4 separate regions of the Homo sapiens genome follow, and all the other regions are linked to region 4. Evidence: promoter capture Hi-C in 16 types of primary human blood cells and fetal thymus (Javierre and others, 2016). All regions are on one chromosome and are shown on one strand. Each heading gives the region's core, a stretch centred on a gene start or on the middle of the fragment in contact. The rest is flanking DNA. Distances are from core to core; before and after follow the strand shown.

What was found. Contacts are between HindIII fragments. The CHiCAGO score rates a contact against its expected background, and 5 or more counts as called.
Region 1: a contact is called between a fragment that was not itself captured here and the fragment with the promoter of SLC35D4 in region 4, in 1 of 17 cell types (total B cells). The highest score is 5.8, in total B cells.
Region 2: a fragment that was not itself captured here is called in contact with the fragment with the promoter of SLC35D4 in region 4 in 2 of 17 cell types (total CD4 T cells and activated CD4 T cells); the score reaches 6.0 in total CD4 T cells.
Region 3: a fragment that was not itself captured here is called in contact with the fragment with the promoter of SLC35D4 in region 4 in 3 of 17 cell types (activated CD4 T cells, naive B cells and total B cells); the score reaches 7.1 in activated CD4 T cells.

The regions. Positions count from the first base shown.
Region 1 is chr18:22,842,506-22,845,205 of GRCh38, forward strand. The region is part of intron 2 of RBBP8-AS1 (RBBP8 antisense RNA 1); the gene reads right to left. Among named protein-coding and RNA genes, the nearest start is that of RBBP8, 89 kb to the right of the region's middle. The HindIII fragment of the contact is 8,089 bases long and covers 1-2,700 here.
Region 2 is chr18:22,915,159-22,917,858 of GRCh38, forward strand. All of the region lies in intron 2 of RBBP8-AS1 (RBBP8 antisense RNA 1), which reads right to left. It also overlaps a transcript of RBBP8 not described here. Among named protein-coding and RNA genes, the nearest start is that of RBBP8, 17 kb to the right of the region's middle. The HindIII fragment of the contact is 1,134 bases long and covers 738-1,871 here.
Region 3 is chr18:22,797,907-22,800,606 of GRCh38, forward strand. The region is part of intron 2 of RBBP8-AS1 (RBBP8 antisense RNA 1); the gene reads right to left. It overlaps LOC124904263 (a long non-coding RNA gene), which reads left to right and starts at 324. Exons shown (of 2, transcript XR_007066308.1): 1 at 324-581. The HindIII fragment of the contact is 1,500 bases long and covers 525-2,024 here.
Region 4 is chr18:23,436,699-23,439,398 of GRCh38, forward strand. It overlaps SLC35D4 (solute carrier family 35 member D4), which reads right to left and starts at 1,263. Exons shown (of 15, transcript NM_032933.6): 1 at 1,083-1,263. The coding sequence starts at 1,154. RefSeq lists a silencer at 1,292-1,391. The HindIII fragment of the contact is 5,255 bases long and covers 1-2,693 here.

The DNA.
Region 1 (2,700 bases), core at 97-2,596, 590 kb before region 4:
GTAGGAGAGGCCATCATAGAGCTGGGCTCATTAGTATTCATATTCATGATAGAGGCCCCACAGGAATAGAGGCCAAGTGATAGCACTTAACTATCAAAAGTCAGGAGGCTGCAATTACCATAATGGCCTGCAAGATCAGAGCAGCCAATGGGTTTGATCCACAGGGAGTTGTGGAGATGGTTGATAAAGCATGGTTTTCCTAGGAGCAAAATAGAAGGGCAGTCAGCAAGGGTGCTACTTAACATCTTTAAATTTAAAAAAAGGCAAGAATGGGAGAGCAAGAGGCAGAGGATAGTCATACCTATAAAAAAGTCACAATCCTCTGCTAATATTCCCAGACTTGAGCAGATTTTTAGAACCAAAATCCATTGACTAAATACCACAGAAAGTATATTCTATAATCATTCCTACGACACCCACTGCAACAACTTGGCAGTTGGAGTAACCCCCAGATTAAGACCCTTGGCCTATGGAGTAAGAGCTATCACAGCAGGAAAAACCAAGTGGAAATCTTTAAAATTGTTCCTCCTCAGCCAACATAGTAATTCAAAAACAATATATCCTACAGATGATGAAGGAGATTGTTGCTGTCATTAAAGAGCTAAAGGAGGCAGAGATGGTGGCTCTCATCATATCTTCATTTAATTCACTAATCTGGCCCCTGCAAAAGCCATCTGTAGACTATCACAAGCTCAACAAAGGAGTATCCCTGATGATAGCTATTGTGCCAGACATGGTTCTACTATCCCTCTTCTAAATTCCCCCTTAGAAAGAGACCCCTAAGGAACCACGGAGGAGTTGCATCCCAAAGCTATGTGAAGTAGACCTGTGTGGAACAAGGGTTAGACAGGAGCAGGCATGAAAATGCTCCTGTCAGACCTCCTGTTGTGAGGAGCATAACTGACCAACAGCCTGAGATCTTGTCCCTCTGGATCCAGCACTGCATTTGCCCCAAGGACATACTTTTGTTGTGGGGGGTGGTTCCCAGCCAATTCTGGACCACCTCAGAGATACTAAGGTAGGTCCATTTTGGCAATATACAGGACTCCTCAGTAACTTTGATTCAAGGACTCCCCATCAACCTGGCCAAATCTTCCTTGGTACTGCACTGCAGTCTGAGACTCCTCATACCCAGTCTTCCTTTCTTCCTTCTCTTCTACACAATCTGAAGGATCTCTCCACCTTCTCCTCCTTCCCCCAGTAAATCTCCTACTTCTTAATGGACTTGACCTAATATACCCCGAAAACCTGGAAGACTATGGAAGAAAGGATCTGCATTTGCATTTCCCCTGGCAACCAGAATGTTTTTAAACTATACAAGGGGATCACAGACTTACTTATTTCTTTATTTTTACCACAATGAAGGTAACCTGCTAAGGGAAGGAGAATCTAAAGATGATTAAAATAAACCTGGAACAAAAAATTGCTTTGTATCTTAAAATTTGCATAAGGCATAGTCAGGGCACAAAGGGGCTGATGCAGCCTCAGTGCCAAGGTAAATGAGGCACACACTGTACAGTATTTTCTGTGTTGGTGCCAGTCACACAAATGGGATCTGCCCAGAGCTAGTCTTACTTGTGTTCCTAACTTGCCTGAAAATGTTTAGAAATTGTCATTCCTGGATCAGCACTTTTAGTTTGGGTCTTGGTGCCAGTAACACCTTTAATTCTGTGGTTTTCATTCATATGCTGTTGACTTGTGATGCATGCGGCCTCACCCACAGAATAATAAATGGTTCCCCAGTTCTGTTGGAGTTAACCTAGGTTAGAAGCCATAGTTTGGTGGACTCTGCTCAGATTAGTCAGGTTCAGCCAGATTTGTGGTTGACTTGACCTAAAATGAAATGCAATGACCTATTCACTTTCCAGACATGTCCAGGATTCTAGGAGTGGTCCAAAGTTAATCTGAATCCATGAAAGGTGTGGTTTTTTGGAAATCACCCAGAACTAAGGGATCCTAGGGTTATTCTTATTCTTGGTGACTAATGTACAAACGATTTAATGTCTCTGTACATTCATTTCCTAATGAATATAATAATCCCTCCCTTTAAGAAGGTTGTAATGTTTCATATAATTGTATGAAATGCCTTGAAATCTTTAATGAGAAAAGGAAAAAAAGTTATCATACACACCATTTTTAATCTAAGGCAAAAGAATTCAATCAAATCTTGAGGCTTAATTTATTAGGCTTTCTCAACTTAATTATTTATCTATACTGAAGTCTGCTGAATGCACATTTCATTGGCACATTTTATTTTTCAAGGGTGTAGCCTAGCACAGTGACAGATATTTAATAAATGCACATCAACTTGCAAGAAGAAATGTGGACAATTTAACAGAGTCATCGACTGAGAATCCAGATACCAGGGTTCTAGTTCCAACTCTGCTGCTAGTGCATTATACAATCTTCCACAAATCACTTGGCTTTAATTCTCTCTTCCGAGATTGAGAACATTGGTGTTAAGCATCTCTAAAGTAACATTCAGGCCTTTAAAAAATCTGTCATAATTTGTGAAGTTGTTACTCTTTTATATTGCTCTAATGATGAGACACTTTTTTTAAAGAAGAAATATAAAGACATTTATAAGTAAATACTTTCCTATTTTATTTTTCTCAAAATCTGTGCTGCATTTTAAAGGCACTGTGGTATAACTCAAAGAGTACTAAACATGGCTTCTAAAAATGGATTTGCTACTAACTA
Region 2 (2,700 bases), core at 55-2,554, 520 kb before region 4:
TATCTGGGAATTTAAAATTTTTTTAACATATTATACTGAATGCTTTCCTGTCATCTTAGTAGGACTTTGCTTTGAGCTGAGCAAGACTGATGCATCCTTTTCATTGTCCCTAGGGTTCCCACTTTGTCACTATGTTCAAACTCAAAGGCTATAAAATTATTTTCTAACTCAAAGGCTATAATATTAGTTTCCTTAGGATGTTGACAAAGAATAAATTTAAAAGTGTGAATAAATGTTCAGATGAGATTTCATTTTTTGCAGGGAAAACCCTTGGATGCTTCATAGTCCTACTTCTAGGCAGTTCTGCATGAATTTCTGGTAATCCAGGTAAACTGCTGAAAAGCTATGTAATGTTGTATCTGCAAAAGCAATGTGCTGATTCAGCAAGCCAATATTAATTTTATTCAGCACAAATTGTATTTTGACAAGTTTTTGGTAATATGGATCAAAACTTTTAATTGGCTGAATTTTTCTGAATTTACTACATGAAACCTAGTTTTCAGGTAATATATATATACCAATAGAGCACATTGTTAGTATTTCTGGTGAATATATTGCATATGATAATTTAAAAAATTTAAACCACACCGTGTTTAAAACATAGGGCTTACTGTTTAAAGATAAATTTAATTTGGGATTCTAATTTATTTATTGAGCATTTTTTATGTTTATGGTTTTGAAGAAAGCTATTTAAGAACTAGATATACATTTATATAAAATCCATGGGTAAAATTTCAAGCTTAACTCTGTATTTTGGGAGAGGATTTTACAATTTTCATTTAATGGAATTTTCATTTTCAAATATATGTAAGTCCTATTAGATATTACTTTCATGTATTTTCCATAAATTTAGTCCTTTAAAATATTGATACATTGCGATATTTTTGTTAAAACTGAGGATATATAAATTTGTCAATCAAATTAGGAGTGTGTATGTATTTTATACAGACCAACATACTTCAGCGCCTAGTCAAAAAGTATTCCACTCATTTAAAATTTTTTTACTCTTTTAGTCGAGGATGCATTTCTTTTTATTCCTAGCTGCACAATTTCGCATAACTCTTTCTGTCAACAATGCTAGCTTTCTTAACAACTGCAACTTCTTTCCCTCCTGAATATCTTCATGTGTTTTCCACTAAAAGCACTTAGAATTATGTCATTTTTTACCTAAGAGGGACATTTAAAGAATAACCAATGAATCCAATATCTCATTTTTGAGTTAAGAAATGAAAAGCCCCAAAATATAGCTAAGTCACTATTATATAATCTAAGGGTAGATCTGGGGCCAGAACATCCAGGTTTCCTGACTTCCACCAAGACCAGTAATTTTTTCACTACCCTACATTGACTCTTCTGAATACTACATGAAATCTAATCTAAAAAGGTAAAATTATGTTGTATAGTGTGTTAATGAATCTTTGGTGAACTAAAAAATCATTTGTTTTTATATTTTAATCTATACCATTATTGCCCCAAACATTTTTGGGACAATGGCTGAATATATATGGGATTGCCATTGATAACAAAGGTGACTACCACTTCAAACCCCAATCTCTTAATGCCATCATATTATTTTGTTTCAGACTGATGAAAGCCTCACATTCTTTCATATTTGCCCAACTTGTGGATCCCGCTCTCATTTTCTGACTCAATATTGCTTTAAGCTGTCTCAACTGTCTATTTTCTTAGTATGTATATATTTTTGTATTATTTTAGTCATTCTTAAATGCTCATAATTTAGGATTTGCCTAAGTTAATATAGTATTCTTTAAATTTGGTTAGAACTGACAGGAAAATTTTGTTATGAAGACAGAAATTGCAGGACTTAAAAACCCATCTTAGAGGTGATAGAAGCTGTTATTGAAGGGGTAAGCTTTGCACACAAGTGCTCAAAAAAGTTTTAAACATTTTTAATTTGAGGAATTCCTAGGAAATGTGATTACAGAAAGTTGGAGAACCAAAGGCCAAAAATTTCAATTCTGATTCCTGGTACTAAATGTTAATTCTACTAATTACCTTATCTTATCACAGGTAAAATCCTACCTGGAAAATGCTTCTAAATTTGGTCATTTTAGTTCAGTCCAAGTGGACTCTGAAAAAAATCGCTTTCATTTGTTTCTTAACTTTACAAGAGAAAAGGCAGTATACTGAAAAGCATGTGAGCTTTTGAGCCAAATTGACATGGGTCTGAATAACTCTGCTACAAATTACGTTCCCCTTGGAAATTATTTAACTCTCTGAGTTAGCTTTTCTCCATCTAGTTAAGGAAGTTAAGTTAATACCATTCTTTCAGAGTTATTGGAAGAATTAAATGAGATATCATGTAAAACACTTCACATAGTTCCTAGAACATAGCAGGTGCTCAGCAAATGTCAGTATCCTTCTTACCCCTTTTACAGACTATATAATACATTTCAACAAATAGCTTCGGTATTTCCTGAAGTATTTCAGTATTTTCTTTCAGTAAGAGAAGTCAACTTTAACTTAGAATATGCACGTTTTTGTCAGAAAGATAAAAATAAAATCAGCAATCTTGGAAGGCATTAAGATATAATGTTGGGGCCGGGCGCAGTGGCTCACTCCTGTAATCCCAGCACTTTGGGAGGCTGAGGCAGCCAGATCACAAGGTCAGGTGTTCGAGACAAGCCTGGCCAATATGATGAAATCCCGTCTCTACTAAAAATACAAAAATTAGCCAGT
Region 3 (2,700 bases), core at 25-2,524, 640 kb before region 4:
TTTTTTTTTTTTTTTTTTTTTTTTTGAGACGGAGTCTCGCTCTGTCGCCCAGGCTGGAGTGCAGTAGCGCGATCTCGGCTCACTGCAAGCTCCGCCTCCCGGGTTCACGCCATTCTCCTGCCTCAGCCTCCGGAGTAGCTAGGACTACAGGAGCCCGCCCACCATGCCCGGCTAATTTTCGTATTTTTAGTAGAGACAGGGTTTCACCGTGTTAGCCAGGATGGTGTCGATCTCCTGACCTCCTGATCCGCCTGCCCAAAGTGCTGGGATTACAGGTGTGAGCCACCGCCCCTGGCCTTTTTTTTTTTTTTTTTTTTTTTTTGAGACAGAGTCTTGCTCAGTCGCGCAGGTTGAAGTGCAATGGCGAGATCTCGGCTCACTGCAACCTCCGCCCCCCAAGTTCAAACGGTTCCCCTTTTGAAGAGAGCAATTCAGAGGGCCATTAACTATATAAGCACAAGAAAAGTCCAAAGATCCTGGAGCTACCTAGGGAACAGAGCTCCAAAGAAAGCCTCCTGCGTGGAAGCTTCCCTGAGGAAGAGCTGATAACACCTTAAACCTCCTCTGGATTCAAGTTAAAGGTGAGAGGGAAATTTTCCAGTGGAATCCTGCCCAGCAGTTAATTACAAATGGCAAATTTTAAATCATCTCTGCTTTGGTGTTCTGTGTTAGAATGGAAATGGAGATGGACAAACTGTTTACTTCTTTCATTTACTTTGTAGCGCTGGGGTGAGGGGACTCTAGGCTGTTTTGTTTCAAGGAATTGTTTAAACTTTTTATTAAATTTTATTTTAATCAAGACGGAGTCTCGGTCTGTCACACAGGCTGGAGTGCAGTGGCGCTAGCTCGGCTCACTGCAACCTCCGCCTTCTGGGTTCAAGCGATTCTCCTGCCTCCCGGGTTCAAGTGATTCTCCTGCCTCAGCCTCCCGAGTAGCTGGGATTACAGGCGCTCAACACCATGCCCAGCTAATTTTTGTATTTTTAGTAGAGGTAGGGTTTCGCCATTTTGGCCAGGCTGGTCTGGAACTCCTGGCCTCAAATGAGCCTACTGCCTTGGGCTCCCAAAGTGGTGAGATTACAAGCGTGAACCACTGCATCCAGCTCAGATTTTCAAAGTGAGGGTAAATTCTAGGAAATAAAACAGAAGATTATAGAGGTGAATAATTTAAGAATTTTAATTAATGCATAGAAAATAATAGTGCATAGTGCTGGTGTCTTAGAATATGTTTACTATTCTTTGAATATTTATTTCTGAAATTCGTCCCTTCATTTGACAGAGCTGTATGTGGATTACTACAAATGTCCACCAGAGGGAGACTCAAGACTGAGTTTTCCCCTTGGGGTTCCTTCAGGTTTAATTAGTACTTGGGCCAAAATCTCTACCACATGTTGTTATAGGGAGGCAATCCAAGACGGCGAAGAGATTTATGGTTCTGGAATGAGATAAAAGGATAAATAAAGGGATGGTTCTATCCTTAAACATCCCTGCTTTTTCTCTGGGGCTTGGGTCACTTTCTCTTACTGATCCTCTGAGGTTTGCAAAACTGAGTTATTTGTCTGCTTTTGAAAGCAAAGCCCTTAGGATTCCTGGCACTATCCACGCTGAAAAAAACCGTAGGAATACTCCCACCCACTAGCAAAGAAATGTGTCATTCAACTCACAGGAGGCATTTACTAAATTCAGGAGATCCCTCCAGGGATTATAATGTTCTGCCAGAGCCAAAGGCAATCTAGTCCCAAGCCATACCATGGAATTTGGTAGAGGATGGTTTTAGTCTTCCCTGAAGTCTTCATTTGTTAGTTCATTCAACAAAGAGGAAGACTTTATTAAGAGGCAGGTATTGTTTCACTTTTTAAAAGATATCTCTAATTATAGGAAAAATCTAATAATGAAATGAATTTATCATTAACATGCAAAAGCTGTTCTAAAACAGATTTCTGAATAGAACATGTTGTTGGTATAGTTTACATTTGAGATTTTAGGAAACACTTTTATATCACCTATTATGTGCAAAGGGGAAAAGCTTTTTGACAAACAGATATTAACATAGAAGTACAACTATGAGGCACTGCTGTGATTTTCCTTTTCAGAGTTTTGTTTTTTAATAAATCAGACATAGATGGTTGCACAATTACTTTCTATTCATGATCACCTAATTTCCCACATTAAGCCCTGAAACCAAATCTTGAAAATGAAAATAAAATTAGACTGCAACCTGCCACCCACTAGGGAACAAACACCTCTACATGCCTTGGCTACAAATTTAACAATAAAAAAAGACTTTAAATCCCACTTTAATATCTAGGACTTGGGGGTCTGGGGTCAGGTAAAAGCAGGGTAATAGCAAAGGAGTGATTTTTCCCTTACTTCTAGGTTAAGCAGGCTGGTTGTACGGGGAAGCAGTGACTGGTAAAGAGTTAAAGCTCACAGAGTTAACTCACTGGTTAAGAGTTAAAGCTGGTTAAGAGTACCAGCTCACAGATTTGCAGTGAGAAAGAACCCAAGCTCTTAGCATCCTTTTCCTTGGGCTCTAAATCAGTTGTGGGAAACAGTGAAAGGTAACATACAGGACAGGATTTTTTTAGCGAGATCACCTTCAGCCATGGTTTCTGATGCAAAATGTTCTCCCGCCAGCACCCAAGACCATAGATGCTGTGGCGGTGGTGGCAGCAAACACTGGGCATGCTTGGACGGGCA
Region 4 (2,700 bases), core at 13-2,512:
AGGAGAATCGCTTGAACCCAGGAGGCAGAGGTTGCAGTGAGCCGAGATCACGTCACTGCACTCCAGCCTGGGTGACAGAGCGAGACTCTATCTCAAAAAAATAAAAATAAAAATCAACTGGAGAAGGAAAGGGGGTTGGGGAGCATCCTCTGAATATATAAAGGCAGCCATTCATTGTAGGAGAGGAGGTAGAAGGAAATGCTGTTTGTCGATGGTTCTTTTCCAGAGAGGAAGAGAGGAGAAAGGAAGAGCGGGGAGCAGGTGGGGAGCCCGCAGTAAGACCCCACAGTGGGGCCAGGTGGTCTTGCACCCTGTATTCCCACTTTGGCTGGGGCCAGCCCAGAGTCCAGGCCAGCAGGTAATGCCCCAGCCATGCCCACTCGGTCCTATTGGATCCAACCTTTCCCTGCGTGGTACCAAACCTAAAGCCAGCTTCCCTCTCCTTGCAAAACAAAACCCCAAAGCTGGCACCACTGCTTCTCTGCCTCCTCACCAAAAGGTTTTCATGATGTCATGACATTAGTTTAAACCTAAAACTAAATGTATGTTTTATTTTAAAAAATAATAATTCCATGAAAAACTCCTGAAGTGCTTACAATGGAGACGTACAAAAAAATTGATTCGGGAATCAGCAGTGTGAGGGGGAGACGGCTTAATCTCTTCTATTTAAAGGCTTCTGGAACTTCACGGGGGCTCTGGGACAGGGGCGTGTTTAGAAAAAAGGCAGGATGTGTCAGATTTCTTCTGACTCTTCCTCCCCGGGGGAGCAGGAGCCAATTGCTTGCTTTCTCTTAAAACTAGTCCACACAGCCCCAAACCAAGTTCCCGGGAAATGGCCAGCCCAAAAATCCTGTTTCCCTGGAGATGTACCGTGCTTTACAGTGCAGGAAACGGGGACAGTACAGGCTGGCAAATCCTATTTCTGAAAGAGCATCCCACACACGGAGGAGGTTCGCTCTCCATCTCCATCGCCACCAGGAAGAATGAGGTAAAAAGCAGGAGGAGGCTCCGTTTGTCACGGGAAGATTCTCCGACTCAAACCTCCCACGTGCAATCGCTGCCTCCCGCGCCCGCCCCCTCACCTTGTTCGTGAGGTAAGAAGCCAGGTAGCAGGTACAAAAGGTGAGGCCGACCAGAGACCTCCTCACGCACATCTGTCAACTCGTCCCCTTCTCGGGGATCCACGGTGCCTGCCCAAATCCCCTGGCCGCCGCCCGACCCCCGCAGCAGCAGCAGCGGCAGCGGCAGCAGCCGCCCAGAGACGGCCACGTGGCTCCGAGCTCCGCCAATCAGCGCGGGGACCGCCCCCGGCGTCTGCCTTCTTAAAGGGGCCGCGCCCTCGAAGGACGGTCATTCTTCTTTTATTTTTTATTTTTTATTTTTTTATCTTCTTTTAAAGAGTAGAAAGTGGCAGAAGAGGAAAAAAGCATACCGCAGTTCACAATACCCCATCAGTGTTTAAAGAAAAATGTTCATCGCTATCTCTAAACTATGAGACCAAAATATTACCCGTGCTTCACTGAATTTTCCCAATTTTCTCCACTGAGTCTGTAGCGCTTTGGCAAATGACACAAAAAAGGTAACAGCAACAAATGTTCACTTAAAAGAGGGAAGGTGAAGGAAGAAGGAACTGGAATTGAGTATAGGTTTTTTGAGTTTTGTTTGTATTTAAAGTCATTCCATTCTCTTGACATTTCTATAAAATAAGAACCCTTTCCCAAGCACAGCCCCTATTCCTATTCCTATTCCTAGTCTATAGGGTGGAAAACTGGACTCATGAGGCTTCCGGCAAATGTTAGTAAACATGCAAGAAAACCTATTGATGGACTTGGACAATAGCAAAAAGTGCCAGTGTTCTCTGCCTGTAGAAACACACAGATTTTCAGAAACACCCACACACGGGGAAACCATCACTCTTAAGCCACAGCAAAAGTCCTCCTGGCTCTCGGTGCTGGAGCAGTGGATGGAAAACGACACACCAACCCTTATGTAATTTTTCTGTTTTTCAGAAGCATGCCTTGTTTCTCTCTGCTCCCTCCAGCATTGAGGGAGGGCTGACCTCGGCTTGTCCCCTTGAAGCCACTCCCCAGCCACCACTGTCTCATCGCAGTCCTTTGCCTCTGCTCACTTTTCCACAGGTCTCTTCCTGGGCCTGCTGGTTGGTCTGCAGAGGGGACCAACATAGAGATGGAGGTAGGCTGGTCACCCCTTCCCTCCCTTTTCTCCCACAGTCTCCTTCAAACCACTTGTACAGATGGGTATAGCTTTCTCTACCAAGACTGGATGATATGGTTTGGCTGTGTCCCCAAATCTCATCTTGAATGGTAGCTTTCATAATTCCCACATGTTATGGGAAGGACCTGGTGGCAGATAATTGAATCATGGGGGCAGTTTCCCCCATATTCGTCTCGTGGTAGTGAATAAGTCTCCCCAGAGCTGATGGTCTTATAAGGGGAAACCCCTTTCGCTTGGCTCTCATTTTTTCTCTCTTGCCTGCCACCATGTAAGACGTGCCTTTTGCCTTCCACCATGATTATGAAGCCTCCCCAGCCCCGTGGAACTGTGAGTCCATTAAACCTCTTTTTCTTTATAAATTACCAAGTCTCGGGTAAGTCTTTATCAGCAGCGTGAAAACAGACTAGTACACTGGGTTATTAAAAAGCAAAAATACAGAACAGGAAGAGAGGAGATGAAGCTTCA